2 separate regions of the Homo sapiens genome follow, and region 2 is linked to region 1. The links are contacts of gene promoters, found by promoter capture Hi-C in blood cells and fetal thymus (Javierre and others, 2016). All regions are on one chromosome and are shown on one strand. The core of a region is centred on a gene start or on the middle of the fragment in contact, and the rest is flanking DNA. Distances in the headings are between cores, read along the strand shown. Region 1 holds the start of IDNK (IDNK gluconokinase). Region 2 overlaps GKAP1 (G kinase anchoring protein 1).

Region 1 (4,677 bases), core at 1,150-3,649:
GCTGTCCAGAATCTGGGGGTGATCTGGACTTGAGTGACTATAGAAACGCATGCAAGAAGCTGTGCCTCGCTAGGGACTCGGGGTTTCCAGAGTACCATGTGCCTCAGTACAACAGTTCTTGCAGTAGACAGGACCTAAAACCAGACCAATATTCAGCATCTGGGTTGCCCCATAGTAACAGCTGGGAAGCACCGAGACAACCAGGACCAGCAGGTGGCACTCTTTGGAAAGCAAAAAAAAAAACGTGGAATTCAGCTCTTAGGGGCACCTTTGAAGTTCCGCTGTCCTGGAAGCAGGCACAGAGTTTCACTGACACTGGCATGCTGGGTATCTTTCATTGGTACCTCCAGATACAATCTCCACCCTTCTCTTCCCTGCTCTGAGCCCAGGAAATTGGCATGCATGGGCACCGCCGGACTCCCTAGCTCTCCACCTTCCAATTGGGTTTGGCTGGTGGGGTTTGGCCACGAGCAGGAGATCACAGGGCAAGAGGAGGGGAGGGGAGGTTATTTATTCTCCTGATTATTTTTCTGCTGGGTCAACAAGGAATGTCTATCTCTCTCTTCCTAAGGCTACAGTCCTGTCAGACACTTCTTTCTATATGGTCTATTCTCTCTGTCTCTCTCCTTCCATTCTCTTCCCTTCCCATATAAAGGCTCCCTCTCATCAGCCCCTTTCTATTTAAGAGTGAAAACACTTCTCGGTTACTCAGATGTGGACTCTGCCCCTAGTTGCTTTTTCTGACCCTACCCACACCTGTGCTAATAGTCCCTTTGTTAAATCCTGTTCACCTGCCCCAATTTGAGCATGCTGTTTCCTGCCACCACCCTGAGCAGCACAGCAAGTTTAAGATCCTTGGACATGTCTGGGGAAAGAAATCCAAGGAGAAGAATCAGATTTTCTGCTAATCATTCTGATTTGAACATTGAAAGAAATATGAGCTTTTTTTTTTCATACTGAGCTAGCGAAGCAGGGCACGAGTTAAGAGTATTTGCATACACATCTATTCCTCTTATCAAGCTTGAGAATGCCTAGAGGGTAATCTTTTAAATGAATATTAATATGATATTAACCAGCACATGGTAGATGTTCAAGAAATGTGTATTGACCATAACTGAATTGTAAGACCTCTCTCCAAGCCTCAATTTCTTCACCTGTACAGCCCCCATCCAGATTGAAATCTCACCTACTCGGGCTAAGTATATGAAAAACAAAGGCAGTGCAGGGGTAATTGAACTATTCATTAGATAAATGCTTTTATGTCACTTTTATTGTTTTCTAGGACACAGAGTAATACCTACCTTGGTTAACAAAAGACCAAAGGAGGTGATGCCAAATGCGGTTAGAAGTGCTTTTAATCACTTTGGGAGGCCGAGGCGGGTGGATCATGAGGTCAGGAGATCGAGACCATCCTGGCTAACAAGGTGAAACCCCGTCTCTACTAAAAATACAAAAAAAATTAGCCGGGCGCGGTGGCGGGCGCCTGTAGTCCCAGCTACTCGGGAGGCTGAGGCAGGAGAATGGCGTGAACCCGGGAAGCGGAGCTTGCAGTGAGCCGAGATTGCGCCACTGCAGTCCGCAGTCCCACCTGGGCGACAGAGCGAGACTCCGTCTCAAAAAAAAAAAGAAGTGCTTTTAATCAAATAGTTCAAACGACACATAATTAACATTGTTTTAAAGCAAATGGACACTTTAAAGTGGTGCTCCTTCCTCTTAAAGCCCCAACCAGTGCTGGATTTAACAGCAGAGCCATACAGCCAAGACATATGCTGCTACGGTCAACACTCAACCCTAAGTTTGACACCAAAAGATGGCCGCCATTTATTATTGTGACAAAAGGCCAGATTACAAAACGCTGTGTACGGCCTGATCCCAGTTTTACAAAATACTCATACCCATCTATCTACGACGGGGCGCGGGGAAAGGGGAGTCGTTTTAGGAAGTGCTGCTTATTGCTGCCTGGTGTGGGAAATTATGAGTCTTATTTTCTGTTTATTCTTTTTACAAGAACATTTTTATAAATGAATGAATGAATGCTTTCCATGGGTGGATGAGGATCCGGCCTGCCAGGGTGAGGATCCTCTGGAACCAAGAGGGGCCGGGGCAGTAGAACGACAGGTGGCGGGGCTTTGGGCGGCTCCCTCCAGCCCAGGGAGACGCGAGTGCCAGGCCGGGCGCGCGCTTCACTTCCGGGAAGAGGAAAGAGGGAGGGGAGGGGAGAGGAAAAGAAGGGGCAGGAGAGAGAGGCCGGGAGGTTGGGAAAGGGAGGAGGAAAGCATGGAAAAGGGGCGCGGGAAAACGGGGAGGGCGCAGAGGGGCACGGCCCTCACTGCCCCGGCCGGGGCGAGAGCGGCTCCGCCCCTCGAGCGCCGGGTAGGCCGGGGCCGGCGGGGCCCGGAAGGCGACGGGAAGGAGCCGAGCTTGGGTTATGGCGGCGCCGGGCGCGCTGCTGGTGATGGGCGTGAGCGGCTCGGGGAAGTAGGTCCGGGAGAGGGCGGGGGGCGCCCGGGACAAGTGTTGCGGGCGCGGCGGAGGCCGGACGCGTCGCCGTCCCTGCCGGTGGACTGGGGTCTTGGGGACCCCCCACCCTTCCCTTTGCAGATGAAGAAACCGAGGCCCGCGGCTGCCGCGCCCTCTCCCCGCCCTCCAGCCTGCTCGCGGGGCGCCCATCCTGGGACCGCATCCGAGCTCCGGGTTCCCGCTCTAAGACGGGGAGGCTGCGGCGACCGCAGGCTCAGGGAGGAAGCCGCTCCTGAACAGGCGGCTGCGGGGCCGCGCAGGTGGAGGCCTAGCGAGCGGCGCGGGGCTAGGTTTCGGGGCGCCTTGTCGGGGCCAGGCGGGAGGGCGCACGGCCTCTAGCGAGAGGACGCAAACCACGGCCCAGGCTCTCACAGACCTTTGGCCATCTGGACACACAGCGGCCTCCTCCTATGAGGCCCTGGACTTCTCCGATTCAATTTTGGAAAGTGAATCGTTTTCCCCTTCCTTTCATCAGCTTAACCTGGAAGGAGACAGCGTTAATATGGAGGGTGGCTCCTGAGGGTTTGGAAAGAAAGAAGAGAATTGTGGAAACCACAGAGGTAGCCCAGTGTGCTAACCTGGAGACTGAGGAGTTAACATTTGGCTTCCTGTTTAAACCAAAGTCTAACTGTGCCCTTTATCAGAAAAGACAGCTGCTGTACCATTCGACCACAGGCAGCAAAGGACAGAACTTGATCAGCTAAAACATCATAACCTTCAAGGGCCTATAGGACCCTTCTAGAATTTTCTGAATCAGGAACGGCCCATGTTGTGGCCTGTGTAGTCAGGTGTATATTAAAGATTTACTCCAGGTAGATGGGTTTTGCTTTCCAAAATTATTGTAGGGTTCTCAGCCACAAAGATAAAAAGAAATCTTGAACTGCAATTGAAATAAAACATGGAGCCCCCAAATCCCTAGCTGCCATATGATTTGAATCAGTTGGAGAATGTAAAATCATTGCCATGGTGTGATGTAACAGGAGTGAAGAGCCCTAGGTCTTGGTTCTGTTGCTGTCTGGCTGTGTGAGCCTGGGCAGTTCATGTACCCCCTCTGAGTCTTGAATCAGATGAGGGAGGCCTAATCCCTATGATGTATAGCTTGTGATATTCATGTACTCAGTAATTATTGAGCTCAATCCTTACTCTATGTCATTGTCATATAGCGAACAGGACAGATAAAATCCCTGCCCTCAAAGGATTTACATTCTGGTATGGGAGACAGAGTAAATGAATATATGTAGTGTGTGAGTTGGTGATAGATGCTCTGGAGTAAGGGGAACAAAGAGTGCCAGGCAGAGTGGTCAGGGATGTCTCCTCTGGGGGAGTGGCGTTTCAGCAAAGACCTGCAAGACTTGAGGAACCTGCCATGTGGATAGCTGAGGAAAGGGCAGGACAGGCAGAGGGAATGGCAGGTGCAATGGTTCTGAGGCTTAGCTTCTTTTGTTTTTTTTTTGTTTTGTTTTGTTTGAGGCGGAGCTTCACTCCTGTTGCCCAGGCTGGAGTGCAGTGGTGCAATCTTGGCTCAATGCAACCTCCTCCTCCCGGGTTCAAGCAATTCTCCTGCCTCAGGCTCCTAAGTAGCTGGGATTATAGGCGCCCACCACCATGCACAGCTAATTTTTTGTATTTTTAGTAGAGACGGGGTTTCATCATGTTGGCGAGGCTGGTCTCAAACTCCTGACCTCAGGTGATCCATGCGTCTCAGCCTCCCAAAGTGCAGGGATTACAGGCGTGAGCCACCGCGCCCAGCTAAGGCTTGGCTTCTTTAAGGAGCAGGAAGGAACCCATTGTGGCTGAGTGAGGGGAAGCATGATGGGAGATGAAGTCAGAAACAATGCAGGTAAAGAGAATGTGGTCATATGCTGGCAATATTTTGAAGGTAGAGTCAGAAAGATGTGTTTGTGGACTGGATGTTGGGTGTAAGAAGACAAGAGAGAAGTCAAGGATGATTCAAGATTTTAGGCCTGAGTAATTGGAAGGAGGGAGTCGCCACAAACTGATTTGGGGAAGCAGTAGATAGAGCAGATTTGGAAGACAACCTCAGAAGCTCAGTGTGGGATATGGTGACTTGGACGAGCCAATTAGTCATCCAGTGGATGGTGGTTGGATGTCCAAGTCTGAAGTTCAGAGGAGAGGGACTTTAGATCTAACTGTGGG
Region 2 (4,677 bases), core at 1,607-4,106, 150 kb after region 1:
ACAGGTGTGCACCACTGAGCCTGCTAATTTTGTTTATGAAAATTTTTAGAGATGGGATCACACTATGTTGCCTAGGCTGGTCTGGATCTCCTGGCCTCAAGCATTCCTCTCACCTCAGCCTCTGAAGTAGCTGGCATTACAGGCGCCAGCCACCATGCCTGGCTCTGGGCTCGTCTTGTATATTCCCTGTCATCGCCCTAGATACAGCCATTTCTCCAACGAGTCCTGGTTCCTTTTACTGGAGAATGGTTTTAGAAACAGTAATCAATTTAACATCATAAAAATAACCTCATATTCTATGACCCCGATGTGATATGATAGGAAATATATCACACCATCTAGGAAATATTCTTGCCTCCCTCAACTCCTCAAGAAAACAACTTGATGGATGACAGAGCCTTGGCAGATGTTAAAAAGGAAAAAAAAATTTTTTTTGAAAGAAAACAACTTGAGTCGGGCACAGTGGCTCACTCCTGAAATCCCAACACTATGGGAGGCCAAGGCCGGTAGATCACTTGAGGCCAGGAGTTTGAGACCAGCCTGAGCAACCCAGTGAAACCCCGTCTCTAATAAAAATAAAAAATTAACTGGGCGTGGTGCTGGGCGCCTGTAATCCCAGCTACTCGGGAAGCTGAGGCTCAAGAATCGCTTGAACCCAGGAAGCAGAGGTTGCAGTGAGCCAAGATCGTGCCACTACACTCCAGCCAGGAGGACACAGAGAGACTCTGTCTCAAAAAAAAAAAAAAAAAAAAAAAAAGAGAGAGAAAAGAAAAGAAAAAGAAATGAATCTATCAAACCTCAAAAGCTAATTAACAGTTTATAAGAAATTCTGTAAAGCTATAACCCCGAGATTCCCAAGTAATCATGTGATCTCGCCTGAAGTGAAGGAACAGATAGCAGCTGAGAGTAGGGAGTGAAATGGAGAGTCCTAAAGCTGTCTAAATGCCTGGATCCAGTCAACTATGAGGTCAACTCTCCCCCTATTCTTCCATGATGTGGTTACATTAACCAAATAACTGTCTCTGTTTTGTTTATGCTGGATTGAGTTGGGCTTCTGTTGCTTATAACCAAAGAGAGCTAACAAATGTAACACATACAAACAAGGAAAGGCTTAGTAACAAGAATGAGCTCAACACACTGAGAAGAATAGAAAATAGGTTGAATCTTTAGGTAAAACCAGATTCTAGGTGAGATTTATTTAAAGCTAGATTAAATTTATTTGCTTTTAAAATTTAATAACCTAAAAAAAAGAAAAGAAACAAAATAAAAAATTTAGGCCAGGTGCAGTGGCTCACACCTCTAATCCCACTTTGGGAGGCCGAGGCAGGTGGATCACGAGGTCAAGAGATAGAGACCATCCTGGCCAACATGGTGAAACCCCACCTCTATTAAAAATACAAAAATTAGCTGGGCATGGTGGTGCACATCTGTAGACCCCAGCTACTCGGGAGACTGAGGCACGAGAATCGCTTGAACCCTGGAGGTGGAGGTTGCACCACTGCATTCCAGCTTGGCAAGATAGCGAGACTCCATCTCAGAAAGAAAAATAAAATTAATAGTCTAATTTGATTACTGCTACACTCCTGTGTGTTGGTAGCATTAACAATAGGGTTCATTTTTTTAGCGTATTTTTCTTTATTCTTTATTTCAATTGCACTCTGATCATTTATCATAATTTTAGAAATCAACAGATCCAACATTACTTTTCATAATATAACTAGGGCCTAAAGTGAATAAATTATTTGTCCACGCTCATAATCAGCTAAAGGTAGACATGTGGAGCATTAGTGCTAAAGCACAGTGCTATAAGAAGGAAGTAGGTTGTAGAGACAGATAGGACTGGGTTTGTTCCCTGGTTCCTTTCTTCACACAGTTCTTTTTATTTTTAATATAATTTTTACATAAGTAGTACACGGACATGATAGAAAATTCAGAAGCTTATACTGTAAAAAGCAGGCAGGCTATTTCTCCTATCCCTCTGTCCAATATCTCCCCCACTGCCACCTTTGACAACCACTGTTACAGTTTCTTGGGTACTCCTCCAATGATAGTGCATTCAAGCATATTGAAGACTGGATCATTTAGACTTCAAGACATATGATGATCACTAAGATTTTTAAAACTAAAACCATACTAGAAGGACTGGAGTTTGGAAGGCCAGATAAAATTGGGACTAGAGAGAAATGAGTATCTATGAGATACCCTTCCTAACAGTTCTGGCATTTAAAAAGCAACATATTAAAAAACAAAACAACTTCAGTCCAACAGAAGAAAAAAGACTAAGAATCAAATAAAACTCCTGAAAAGGCATGATTTGTTGAGATTTTATAAAGAGGTATGTACAAGCACCTACTCTAGACAGAAGAAAAAAGAAATAATGAAATTAACCTGAGAACAAGTTTAGCTAGCACCAAGAATATATATGCAGTTCAAGTACACCTCATCACCCATCAATAAAGTAAAATATTTTCCCTTCTGAATGTTATCCAATAAATATCTGATTTAAGGGGAGGTAGGTAAGAAGAATATTATTTGCCACAGATGTTAGGAACTTAAGAGTAGCCATGAAAAAAAAATCCCTTGGCCTAAGTAATATATTAAAGATGGAATGAATTAAGTTAATCATTCAGCATACGACGTTAACAAAACTAGTTCATTTGTAGGAGCAAATAACATTTTGTTTGAGAGTTCAAATTGGAATTTTCTTTAGGCTTTTTTGGATTCTCTGTGGAAAAAAAGATCTTCTAAATTTCTAGATCAATGGTATAACCGTTGTAACATTTAAATATTTAAGTCCCAGAAAGAAATGCCTCTAATGGAAATGGAACATAATTTCGGCATACTTTTAACAAGTATCAAAAGGTACACCAGTCAGAATGGCTATTACTAAAAAGTCAAAAAATAACAGATACTGGCAGGGTCACAGAGAGAAAGAAATGCTTATCCACTGTTGGTGGGAATGTAAATTAGTTCAACCACTGTGGAAAGCAGTGTGGCGATTCCTCAAAGAACTAAAAACAGAAATACCATTTGATCCAGCAATCCCATTACTGGATATATACCCAGAGGAATATAAATGGTTCTATTATAAAGACACGTGCACACATATGTTCACTGAAGCACTGTTCACAATAGCAGACATAGAATCAACCTAAATGCCCATCAATGGTAGACTGGATAAAGAAAACGTGGTATATATGCACCATGGAATACTATGCAGCCATAAAAAAGAATGAGACTGTGTCCTCTGCAGGGACATGGATAGAGCTGGATGCCATTATCCTTAACAAACTAATGCAGAAACAAAAACCAAATACTGCATGTTCTCACTTTAAGTGGGAACTAAATAATGAGAACACATGGACACATAGAGGGGAACAAGACACACTGGGGCTTACCAGAGGGTGAAGGGTGGGAGGAGGGAGAGGATCAAGAAAAATAACTAATGGGTACTAGGCTTAATACCTGGGTGACAAAATAATCTGTATAACAAACCACCGTGACCAAAATTTACCTATATAATAAACCTACACATGTACCCCTGAACTTTAAAAGTTAAAAAACAAAAACAAAAATAAAGATAATGTGAATTACATATTCTTATAACCAAATTCTTAATATAGTTGTAAGGGAAATAAATCATAATTAGACTGTATTTACAAATGTGGAACTTAATCAGAAATCTTCAAAATGAATTTTATTATATATCAGATTATTTAACAAGACAGAACACAGCTCTAAAATAAGGAAAGACAAGATATATTATTCTACATACAGAAGCTTGTTTAAATACAACTCATCTTTAATATATTAAATAGGTAGGATCTTGTCAGTTTGCATTTTTTGTCTTCTTTCAAATCAGGAAAGAAGAAAACGCAAGCATCAAACAGTTTATAGAGTTGTCTTAGGAGCAGGTACACCATGTGTATCTGCTTTCTTATTTGTATAACACTATCCCCCAAATAAATCAATGGACAAAAATAAATTGGAATCAGTTCAAAAGTATGTTTTCCACTTTCAAACATGGAATTAATATTCAGTCTATATATGTAGTCATTTAAATTTTAATCTAAAAAATGATGACAATGGTTTGCAAATAACTTTTAAAAAAATTGACCATCTGTTTCAACAACAAATCAATTCTGTGTTTGCATGCATAGTTAGGAACTAAATTATTAATACAATCACAAAATTATTTAGATGTGATTTTTTTTAAGAGATAGATTTCGTTTTCCTAGCCTGTGAAGCAAATGTTTGAAACAAACAAAAAAATGGTCAGAAGCCATATATATATATATATATATATACACACACACACACACGCACATATACATATACATACATATATACACATATACACATATATGTGTATATATATACACGTGTATATGTGTATATATATACACGTGTATATGTGTATATATATACACACATATATATACACGTATATGTGTATATATATACACATATACACACACACACACACACACACACACACATTCTAAAGTGAAATCGAGGACCATCTGACCATAAAAAATTAAACAACGGAATGCCTAATAAGAACACATATATAATAGAAGAATAAAACTTTGAAATTACCTTAAAAGATAAAAATAATTTTAACATTTCATTAGTATCTTCCTCAATGTTAGAGCATTTTTTTAATAGCACAATCTC

The links. The method cuts DNA at HindIII sites, captures the fragments that hold promoters and counts their contacts. A CHiCAGO score of 5 or more calls a contact.
Region 2: a contact is called between a fragment that was not itself captured here and the fragment with the promoter of IDNK in region 1, in 4 of 17 cell types (activated CD4 T cells, naive CD8 T cells, non-activated CD4 T cells and 1 more). The highest score is 6.9, in activated CD4 T cells.

The regions. Positions count from the first base shown.
Region 1 is chr9:83,620,744-83,625,420 of GRCh38, forward strand. It overlaps IDNK (IDNK gluconokinase), which reads left to right and starts at 2,400. Exons shown (of 5, transcript NM_001001551.4): 1 at 2,400-2,478. The coding sequence starts at 2,429. RefSeq lists a silencer at 2,095-2,624 and enhancers at 2,805-2,934, 2,955-3,004. The HindIII fragment of the contact is 10,566 bases long and covers 1,019-4,677 here.
Region 2 is chr9:83,775,143-83,779,819 of GRCh38, forward strand. All of the region lies in intron 7 of GKAP1 (G kinase anchoring protein 1), which reads right to left. Among named protein-coding and RNA genes, the nearest start is that of GKAP1, 40 kb to the right of the region's middle. The HindIII fragment of the contact is 1,843 bases long and covers 1,936-3,778 here.